Linked DNA regions of Homo sapiens: region 1 is linked to region 2. The links are contacts of gene promoters, found by promoter capture Hi-C in blood cells and fetal thymus (Javierre and others, 2016). All regions are on one chromosome and are shown on one strand. The core of a region is centred on a gene start or on the middle of the fragment in contact, and the rest is flanking DNA. Distances in the headings are between cores, read along the strand shown.

The links. Contacts are between HindIII fragments. The CHiCAGO score rates a contact against its expected background, and 5 or more counts as called.
Region 1: a fragment that was not itself captured here is called in contact with the fragment with the promoter of TLE1 in region 2 in 1 of 17 cell types (fetal thymus); the score reaches 5.3 in fetal thymus.

The regions. Positions count from the first base shown.
Region 1 is chr9:82,964,515-82,969,934 of GRCh38, reverse strand. No RefSeq gene overlaps it. Among named protein-coding and RNA genes, the nearest start is that of RASEF, 96 kb to the left of the region's middle. The HindIII fragment of the contact is 5,454 bases long and covers 670-5,420 here.
Region 2 is chr9:81,686,445-81,691,940 of GRCh38, reverse strand. TLE1 (TLE family member 1, transcriptional corepressor) reads left to right here and starts at 2,394. Exons shown (of 20, transcript NM_005077.5): 1 at 2,394-3,724; 2 at 4,507-4,607. The coding sequence starts at 3,701. It overlaps TLE1-DT (TLE1 divergent transcript), which reads right to left and starts at 2,228. Exons shown (of 4, transcript NR_109772.1): 1 at 1,982-2,228. RefSeq lists silencers at 1,847-1,996, 2,147-2,496 and an enhancer at 2,369-3,083. The HindIII fragment of the contact is 8,493 bases long and covers 1-5,496 here.

The DNA.
Region 1 (5,420 bases), core at 2,147-4,646, 1.3 Mb before region 2:
AAAACCCAGGAAACATCCTCCCTTTCTACTGTCTGAACTCACCAGGCTGAAGCGCTTGGAAGGAGGGGATGACACTGTAAGGTGGCTAATGTTATGTTTCAAATTCAAGGTGACCGTCTCAATGGTCTTTTCCTTGGGCTGGATCAGGACTCTTGCCGTTCTTGTTTTAGAAAGACTATAGTTTCTATAGGGTCTTTTTCCCCATTAGTCTTGGCTATTGGAAGCTCTGCAGTTCTAAGAACTAATTCTTGATTTCCTAATTTAGTGGGCAGTGGTGGGAGCAGAGACGGGGAGAAACTTTGTCATCTCCATAGATTCAGTCCATGAGCAGTTATCAAGCACTAGTGCTGAGAATGAGTTTGGAGATTACGCACACACTTGTTTTAATTGGTGAAGTAGCTGGTAATCAGGGGTAGCCTGTGGTTGTCATTGTGGTTTCAGAACTGGACCCAGGACCCAGGCCTCCTGTCTTCAGACTGATAGTTCAAGACGCCACACTTCCTCTTGCTTTGCAGCAACAAGAACCGACAGTGTGGGGTTGCTTTCCTCCACTCTTTCTTTTTTTGTTTTGTTTTTTCTCTCTTTTTCCTTCCTTCCATTCTTCCATCCTTCCTTCTTTGTATTTTTTTCTTTCTTTTTGGTGGGTACAGAGGGACGTGGGGCTAAGCTTCAAGTCAGAAAGGGAAGAAGAACTAGATGCATATGACTTGATTACTAGTGATTCTCTTAAGCATAGAAATAAAATTATTTCCCTCATTAACAAACAAGTAAACAAGATCCTAACCTAAGCTCCTAATGGCATTAATGCACAGCACTGACTATCAGGTAATTTTCTTTTTAAAAAGAACCCTAATACGCATAAAGATAGGAAATTAATCACTAGACTTAGGGGGAAAGACTTGTTCATGTGAGACAGTTTTACAAAGGAATACAAATCACATAATGACTCATCAGAACATCAACTCAGGAAACTTAGCTGAGATGGTTATTTTTTTCTTTATAGAATATTTTAAATATTATGAAAAATTGCCTTCCTTCCTTCCCTCCCTCCCTCCCTTCTTCCTTCCTTTCTTCCTTCTTTCCCTCCTTCCCTCCCTCCTTCCCTGTTTTTCTCCTTTCTTCTGTGAAGTATGTACTTATTTACTCATTTTTTCATTAAGGCACTGTTGCAAATTGAATTATATTTCCTAAAATATATGCCAAAACCTAAATTCCAGTAGCAGTGAATACGACCTAATTTGGAAGCAAGGGTTTTGAAGATGTCCTCAAAATACAATGAGGTCATATTTGACTAGGGTGGGCCCTAACACTATGTGACTGGTGTCCATACATAAAGAGGGAAAAACATGTAGAGGCACACACAGGGAGGACACCATGTGACAGACTGGAGTGATGTGTCTTCAAGACAAGGAATGCCAAGGGCTGCCAGTAACACCAACAGCCAAGAGAAAGGGATCGAACGGATTCTCCCCTGGAGCCTTCAGGGAAGCCTGGCCCTGCCAACACCTTGATTTTAAACTTCTGATTTACAGAACTGGGAGAGGATCAATTTCTGTTGCTTCAAGTGTGTGTGTGTGTGTGTGTGTGTGTGTGTGTGTGTGTGTGTGTGTGTGTGTGTGTGTGTGTGTAGTAGGGAGGAGAGGACCAAACAGATGAACAAGACACAGCTGCTGCCCTCTAGGATCTCACAGTCTAGCAGTAACATTAAGAGCTTTTGTGATCGCTCCACTTTACCCACAGGTGTCTCCACTTTCAGAACAGCAGTCAAGGGCAGGTGGCCTCCATGGCTATATACACCTGTTACACTTTCAATGAGGAAACTGATTGCAGGAAAAACTGCAAGGAAAGGAAATGTTAAAAATCTTTACAGTTTCCAGTAGGTAGAAATTGAGATTGGCATCGGAGAACTGAAGGCCACTTTTTTAATTATTTAAGGAATTACGAAAATATTTAGGGTTCTGTTCTGAGTTGCTTTGGGATCCTTAACCGAGATGAAGAAAACTGAAGAAATCAGGAAAAGGTAAGAAAGTTCTGTCTGAACGTACGTTTAGGGAAAAACGGGGTGCAGAGAGCATAAGCTCCTTAGAGCCCTGGATCATACGCTATTTCTTCAGCATCCACACTTCCCGGCTTCTTTCGTGTACTTTACATATTCAGGTTGGGCTGAATTAAGGTGTAGTCATTTCCCCAGATCTTATTTTACACAGGAGAGCTGAGCTGGTGAAGGGAGGTGGGGAACCACAGTGGCCTCACCTTTTGTGCCAGTGAACGTACTCAGGTGGATCTCATCCTCTAAATTCAAGGTCAGACCATTTCCTTTATGAACTTTAGAGGAGATGAAAAAGAAGATGGAGTAAGGAGAGTGGAAGTCTGGGGAGAGCGGAAGAGCAAGGAGCAGCAAGAGCAGGATGAGGAGATGGTTGGAACCCAATCAGATGGTGGTGGCCAGCCCGCTTCAGCCTAGTGGACACTTGGAGGTGGGCTCACACCTTGATAGAGCCCAATCTGAATGCTTTCCAACCTCTTCTTTGTAAAATAACTAGGAGTGGCTGCAATTTTAAAAGTAGCTGCCCACCGATTGGTAATGTCAAATTTAGCAGTCCTCAATTCTGAAGAGGTTTATATGTCTGATGGAAAGAGACAAGTAGACAAACAGGAGGCAACATGACACAGCATGAGGCACCCAAGAGCTGCATCAGGGATATGTCTAGATCAGTGTTTCTCAAGTTTTAAAACTTTTTCCCACAAAAAAGTCTTTTTAGGCATATTTTCCTAATTGTCCTCTGCCCAGGAAATGTTAATGCCACAGATATATTACATATATGTTTATGAACTGTGCACATAGCTGTGTTTTATACATTTAAAAAGTAAGGTTCCTCTCACCCTCCCCCCCGAGAAACAATTCTCCCCTCTTGGGGACAATATCACCCCCCCTTGAGAATTCATGTCTAGATGACTTTTAAGACCTAGGAATTGCTGAGTTGGAACAGAGGTCATTGTACCCAATATTGTATACAGATGGGCTTAGGAATCTAACAGACCTGGCCTTGAATTCCACTTCTGCCACTTCCTAATTCTGTGACCCTGGGCAACTTACAAACATATCTTGAGTTTTAGTTTCCATATCTATCTTATCTATATTAAAGACTATTTAGATTAAAAAGTAAAGAAAGTTAAGTGCTTTGCACATTGCTTGACACCTGGCCGATGATCAGAGTGGATGTTCTTTCTAGTTATTTGCCAGGCTGTTTTCCCCATTCTCTGCATAGAACACTAAATGAACACCAAATGAAGTGAAGTATGTGCTACTTAGGTCAAGGAGTGATACAAATGTGAGCAACAATTTGCAGAGATTTGTTTTTTCTTCTTAAAGAATCTCACCATTAAAGAGCATGACAACTTTATTCTCTAAAGGGATTTGCTCACCTGGGATCCTTGGGCCATTGGGAAGCTCTGTCTCCGCTTCCTCTCACCAGCCTGTCCTTACTTTGGAGAGGAGGCTGCAGACCGCTTCAAAATGTTAAAAACAAAGAAACGACACTCAGATGAACCGTAGTCTAGAAGAAAATTAGTTTCTCTTCAGTTGTGTTTCCTTAGCCTAAGGTGACTCTGTACATGGGTAATGGGAAAAAGCAAAAAAAGAGAAAAGAAAAAAGAGTGATTGAGGAACAGTTCTAAAGAGATGAACAAAAGCAGAAAAGTGCCTCCTTCACAGTGCTGGTGGTGTCTAGGAAGGAGCTTAAGGTGGCAGTCATTTTCTAAATGAGGTGTTTAAATATATCAGCTCTCAATTTTTAGGAGATGGGGAGATGATGCATTTGGATAATCCAGGACGCTTGCTTTTCTTTTACCCATTAGACATCAGAATTTTTGCCATATTACAAAGTCTTAAAAGTCTGAGACCTGAAAGGACTTTGAGGTAACAACTACAGTTTTTTTGATAAATTAGTTGAGAAAACTGAGACCCCACCAAAGAGGTTAAGTTATTTACTCAAGGTCACATGGCCTGTGAGTAGCAGACTGATGTACATACCCAGGTTTTCTGATCCCAGATCTACTGGGCTTTTGGTTCCAAGGTAGCAGTTAGTAAAACTAGGACTCGGAAAAAGCACAGGGTGTGGAGTCCAGTTGACTGGGACATGGATATAGCTCTTCCCCTTATCAGAAAGGTAGCTTTAGAAAAATCATTTAATCAGGGTTGTTTCTGATAAATAACAGCATTGTGGAACAGCAAAATTCTACCTGAGGAGCAAATATATCTGCACATTGTAGGTGCTTCATCAGTGAGACCGTATCTCAAACTTCAAACCCAGGTCTCTTGGTTGGTTCCCAGAATATTGATTGGCCCCTTTGATTGGAGGCCTCTCAAATGGGTCCTAATAAATTTACATCTGTGTCAATTTTTATCATAAGAAGTTTGTCAATATCATACATTATAAGAAAAATGCATATTAAAACCATAATGATATATCACTTTTCCTACTGATTAACTTGGCAATTGCAAAAAGTTTGATAGTAAATTTTGTTGGGAAGTATTTGGGAGAAACAGGCACATGCATAGTTTGGAGTATTAACTGATATCACCCATTCAGGGGGTGACTTGGCAATATCTATCACAATTTAAGGTGCACATATTCTGTAACCCAGCAGCTTCACTTTCACAGATATGTCTACACATATCCAAAATGCCTTATCATTGCAGCGTTATTGGAACACAACCTACATATTCATTTAAAAATTAGTTAAATATATTATGGTACACCTATACAATGGAGTATTATAAGGCCTCAGGGAAGAATGAACCAGCTTTACATATACTGCTCTGGAACCATGTCTAAGATGTATTGTCAAGTGAAAAAGAAAGCTACAGACTGATATGTATACTATGATATGGTTTGTGGTATAAAGGTTGTGGATACACATATGCTTACTTATGCATGGGCTATCTATGGAAGGATACAGAAGAAATTCAGGAGAGGAGAACTGGGGAATTGGAAGACAAGAGTGAGAATGCGACTACTGCTTGGTATCCCTTTTGGAACCTTCTGAGATTGGCTCCATGTATATGTATTACCCATTTAAAAAAATAAACACAAAGCCAAAAGAAAGCCCAGCCATGCAAAATACTTGTGGTCTCCGGTGCTGGCACAGGCTGTCCTCCTGCCCACCTACTCTAATCTGCTTGGCTAACCTTCTGTGGCTCTCTAACCTCTTGGATCTTCACCTTGGCTCTTTCTCTTGATTTCCAATACCTACCACCAACCTCCTTTATCCTGATGATTCATTGCAGAAGCACACTTCTGGCTTCTATCGGCTGGCACTCTCTCCTGGACACGAGGTTATGAATGCTCTCTGGCTCTGTGGAGTTAGGCTTGCTGGAGCTGCCCACTCCTGATCAGGCCAGCTAGGTCACTAGTTAG
Region 2 (5,496 bases), core at 1,145-3,644:
CCTTAGTACTGATTTTGAGGGCAGCGGGGTGGGGAAAGAAGAGAAGTAGCAACACTTTTGCCCCATCTCAAAGCATATTTTAATGGCTCTGTTTAAACTTAATGGGAGTGTGCCAGTTATTCAAGATACAGGCACCACATAAAGCCTGGGTAAGCCGGGGAGGAATATCAGTTGCTCCAGTTGTCACAGCATGTATACAAGCATACTTGTGGCATCCAAGCACTTTCTGTCCGGTCCTGGAGCTGATTATGGGATGAACTGGCCGCAGACTGGTATATGTGGCTCAATCACTAGATAATTTCAAGGAAAACAGGTTGCTAAAGGCCCTGGGATCCTATGATTCCAAAAAGTCCTGTATGTCGAGCAAAACTGTCATCGTCACCAAATTTAACCAAGGAAAGTGAGGCAGTGCTTTCTTCTTTTTTGTTCTCCATGTTAGCAAAATGAATAATACAGCCGCCTTCCCAACTGTACTTAATGAGAACACCACAAAGCTACAATGCCCAACTTGTTTAAGAATTTACTATGGCTTCGTACAGACTGGTTAAAATCGCTTTTTTATTTTTTCATTTATAATTGATATTTGGGAGTGATGCAATTATAGACAAATCAATATCATACATATTTAAAAACAACTCCAACAGTGAAATGTATTATCTAAAATGACTTCTAAAACTATTTCAAGAAAAAGAACTCTGTAAAAGCACATCTTTAAATAAAATGTATGTCTGTTTAAATAAGCTCCTTCCCGTAAGTCTCTTGAAGGTAAAATAATAAAATAATAACGTGGGGGTTATTAATACCAAAAACTTAACTAGTTTCCAACATAAGATAAATACTTGTCCAAGATGTGCCCTTATGGAAGAAGTTACCACCGTTTGGCTAAACCAGCATTATTCATTCACTGCTCATGTGGAAATGTTCCTCAAACAAAAGCATAAATGCGGCAATACTGACGGTTTTCTGCTGTGTATTTAGAGACATACACAAAAACCAAAGACTCTCAGCATTAATTATACAGCATGTCTTGATTATTACAATCTCAAAATCCCTTTTAACTCAAGTTCCACTTCATAAGAACCTTAGCCACGTCATTTACCTAACTCTTCCCATTTAGCTCTTCACACAGCTCAGCTCAGGAGTACCACCCAGACTGTGGGGGTGGGGTGTGCGGGACAGGTTTTTCAGGTCTCAGTGCTGGTTTATTACATTGTCTCTCTTTGTTCCCAGGAATTGGAAACAGACTCGTAGTCTTGTAGCTGAGAAGTTCCTAAAAACCTCAGCCGCTCCCCACCTCTCCCAACACAGCGAAGTCAGGACTTTTAAGACGAAGACCTGGGATTTCGCGCCCCGGGCAAAACGTCTCATCTGCGGACACGCGTGCCTTGTTCTGGCAGCACCCTGGGAATCCTTCCCGCCAAACGGGACAGGACGATCTTTTTGAAAAGTGGCTTGAAATCCTGCAATAAAAATCAAATCCTACCACTTTGGGTGCAAAGGGGGTGGGTGGGGTGGGAGGACATCACAGTCGTCTTTGCTGGTGTACCTACGCCAACCGTGGCGTTGCTCATTTACGCATTTCCAACTAAGTGCACAGTCCACTCCCTCTCGTACATCCGTAAAAAGGCAGCTCAAGGAAAAACAAACCTCAGATAAATTTTTGAATGTGGCCTCACTTTTAGAGTAGCATCAAACAAGGGGTCCAGCACTGAAAAACACATTTGCTCGAATTACCAAAAGCCCCCCTCCGCCTCCAATAAGAAACTCCGCAGCTAGTCTTTGAGTTACTTTCACTTAGATCTGAGGATTTTCATTAAAGGGAAAAGTGAGCAAGTGGCAGGATTTTTGCTAACTCGAGCCCTCAGCTTCCCCGGCTGCACGCTCGCCAGTCCCTCCCGCTAGCGCGCGCCCGCGCGCTCTCTAGCCAGCCCCACGTTACTTTGATTGACAGCCCAGCCCCGCCGCTCTCCTTCCCACCGACCTTCCCATCATCAGTGCCAATCTCCGCGAATCGCCGCTTCCCATTGGCTGGTTTTGGCGTCCCGCGGCTCCTCCAGGAACAGTTCCTCACCAAGCCCGGGAGGACGCGGCTGGCGGAGGAGGGGCCGGGATGGGAAGGGAGACCGAGGAGACGGCGGAGATGGAAGCGAGAGGAGGGGGGGAGGGAGAACGCCCCGTCCGGCGCTGCGCTGCCATACGCTCCGGGGAGGAGCGCGTCAGCGCCCCACGTTGGTTGCAGCGCACGCGATTGGCTGATGCGGGCCTTCTGCCCCCCCCCCACCCCCCAACCTCCCGGGCTCACGTCCCCCGCCGGCTCCGCGCTCGCGCCCCCCGCCCGAACGGGGCTGGGCGGGGCCGGCGCTGGTTAGCTCCGGAGTGTGAAACCGCGTGTTAATGTAAGCGGCGCGAGAGGCGCGGGCGGCGGCGGCGGTGGGAGCGGCGGCTGCAGAAGCAGCAGCAGCAGAAACAGCGGCGGGTACTCTGTGCCCCGCGTCCCGGAGGCAGCCGACTGCGCCACCCCACCCTCGCACGGCCGGGCGGGACCCGCGCCACCAGCCCGGACCTCCGTCGTCCCGCGGCGACCAAAACCCCCGCTGGCCCCACCGCTGTGACTACTCTGGACTCGCCCGCAGAGTTTGCCCGCCGGGGAGGGTGGCCGATTGGCGGAGCGCACTCCTGCTGTTTTCCCCACCATCTCGTGGATGTCGTCCCTCGGGTGGTGAGAGAACTTTGCAGTGGGCTGGAGCGCCCTTTGCGGAGAAGCACACGAAGGTGAAGGAAGGAAAGAAAGAAGACCGAGGAAGAAGGAGCTCGGAAGAAGGGTCCGGAGCGGCCGGTCCGGCCGTGCAGGGCGAGTGCGCCCGAGGCGCGGCGCCCTGATGCTCCCCGGGCTCGAGGAGCATTGGGCACTTGCGGGACTGCTCTCGGTGGAGTAGCCCCGTCGGGCCCGGAGGGTTTGTGCAACCGCGGAGAACACCGAGTGCTGGTCGCACGGGGCGTGCCGAGCCGCCTCCCGGCGCGCCCTCCGCACTTTCCCCGCCTCGTCATCCGTCGCTCCCCGGCCAGGAGCCTCCGCTGCGTCTTCAACCTCGCTCCCCTTTGCGTCCCGGGAGCCTGCGAGCACCCGGCCGAAGGCGCAGCCGAATCTTGCGGGAGTCGCCCCGAAAGCGTCGGGTTTGTGTGGGGTTAGCGGGGGCCGCCGCGCCACCTGCACCTCGCCCGCCGCCGCCTCGGGGAAAGCCCGAAGAGGAGGCGGACCAGGAGAAGAGCAAAGAAAAGCAGTCCGTCTGGATTTGTTTGCCCAGGACTGGCGCCGCGCACGCGGATCGCCGAGGGGAGTGCGGTCGGAGTCACCGCGCCCCCGCCTCCCCGCCCGGGCAGCTGAGGCCGGGGGTTGGAGCGCTGCCCCCGCGCACAGTCCCCGAGCGCCCGACGTCTCCGCGCAGGTTCTTGAAGCAGCTGGGCCTGGGGCGCCCACTAATGTGGCCCTGAGGGCCGGAGCCCGCACCGACGGGAGCGGGAGCCGGAGCAGCTGCGGGCGCCGAGTGGCCGGTGCGCCCGGCGGAGCGCGCGTGCGTGGCCAGCGCGCTCCCCGCTTCTGCTTGGCTTTCCGGCTTAATTTTCCTCGGCGGGATTAAAGTTGGAAATTGACCGGAGAATTGAGTTGCCGGGGAACAGAGCCCCGGCCGCCGCCAGAGCGATGTTCCCGCAGAGCCGGCACCCGGTGAGGCGCGGCTGGGTGGTGGTGGGGGGCCAGGATCGTTGGGGAGGCGCTTCTCCCGGGCGGTAGGGAGACTGGTGGCTTCTGAGGCCCGGCGGACCTTCTCGCCCTCAGCGGTGTAAGGCTGGGGAGGTCTGGGGCCCTCTCTTCCTGGGGTGGGGAGTGGGCCGAAACTCTTAATTTTCTCCCTCCCTTTGGGCTCCTTCCTACTTGACGTCTATACCGAGCGGACAGGGGCGCTGGGGAAGGCTGGGGTTTCTCTCCTGCAGCCATATCCCCTCTACCTTCCCCGAGTGGGGGCAGGGCGCCCCCCCCTTTGTTTCTCCTCTCGCCTATTTACATGTCAATGCGGCCCCGGTTCCGGTGCGTCTGGAGGTGGCCCCGGCGACTCTGGGAATGGGGAGCGTAAAGGAGTTGTTTTTCTCCTCTGGTCCCCGGGGTCATTATCGCCGCCGTGGGGGAAGGGGCGGCGACACCGACAATCTGGCCTGGTCTTCCCTGGCCGCCGGGGAGCCCCCTTCCCTTTGGCCTGGTGACCCGGGCGCACTTAGCGCAATCCGCCCTGGAGACTGGGAAGAGCTTCCGAGCCTCTTTAGAAGCCGGGGCCCGGGGAGGGTCCGCTTTCCCCCTCCCCATAGTGAAGGGCAAACTCGAGTTTGGGGCCTCGTTTTCAGCCACTTCTAACTTTATGTTTATGTCCCACCCGTTCTTGCCTTCTCTGACTTACTGCTTTATTCATCCGCCCGCATTCCCGTCCCTCGGTCCCCCTCGCTGGTCGCCCCCAGACGCCGCACCAGGCTGCAGGCCAGCCCTTCAAGTTCACTATCCCGGAGTCCCTGGACCGGATTAAAGAGGAATTCCAGTTCCTGCAGGCGCAGTATCACAGGTGCGTGTCCGGCCGCGCCATGCGAGTGGTCGCGGGCGTCCCGGTGCCCCTTGCACCCAGCCGGGTGGCGGCGGCGCCTGTACTTAGTTCTTGCGTCCAGGCGGTGGCGTGTGGAGTCTCAGTTAAGACCTGTCATTCAAGTTACCCCCTTTCCTGGTTCTTCCCGGGCCGCCTCTTCTCTTGTCTCCTCCTCCTCCCATTGTTTCCCTTTTGCCGGTTTGCACTGTTCCAGGGAGTCCTTTTTCATGTCTTTAGGAGTTGCATGAGAATCGTCAATATTTGCACTTCATGTATTTATTTTTCAGCAGACTGAGCTGAAACATTGGTTCAATCGATGTCTCAGTCCTGGAGTGTGGGTTCAGGGAAGCAAAGCCATGTTGAAATCGCTGTTTGCCATACTAGAAAATTGGGTTTTCTGAGGCAAAGTCCATTAAGGAAGGCTAGATGCTTATAACATTGCCCATCATTGGTGATGGTGAGGGAGGTGGGTATAATAGTATAAAGAAGAAAGCTCACCTGCTTTGGCGTCATTTCGGATTGGTTTGGGTAGGATGAGAGAGTGGAGTCACATTTATATCCATCTCAGCCTTAGTTTCTTCAAGTAATGAGACTTACCTTCAAAGGACTTATAAATTTTTGTAAAATACTTTGCCAATAGTGAACTTCCCAGAAAGGTTAGTTTCTTTCCCTTGTTCCTATGAAGTTTTACCTGATTCTAACTCAGAAATAACTGTATTGACATTTTTTGCTTTTGTCATGCTTGAGAAAAAGCACACAGATGAGGCGAAGTGGCTTGGGTGTGAATTTTCTTACTTTGTCAGGGGCTTTCTCATTATTGACCTTTTGTCTACTTGTAGATAATATCTCTGCAGCTTGAGGCATACTTGCA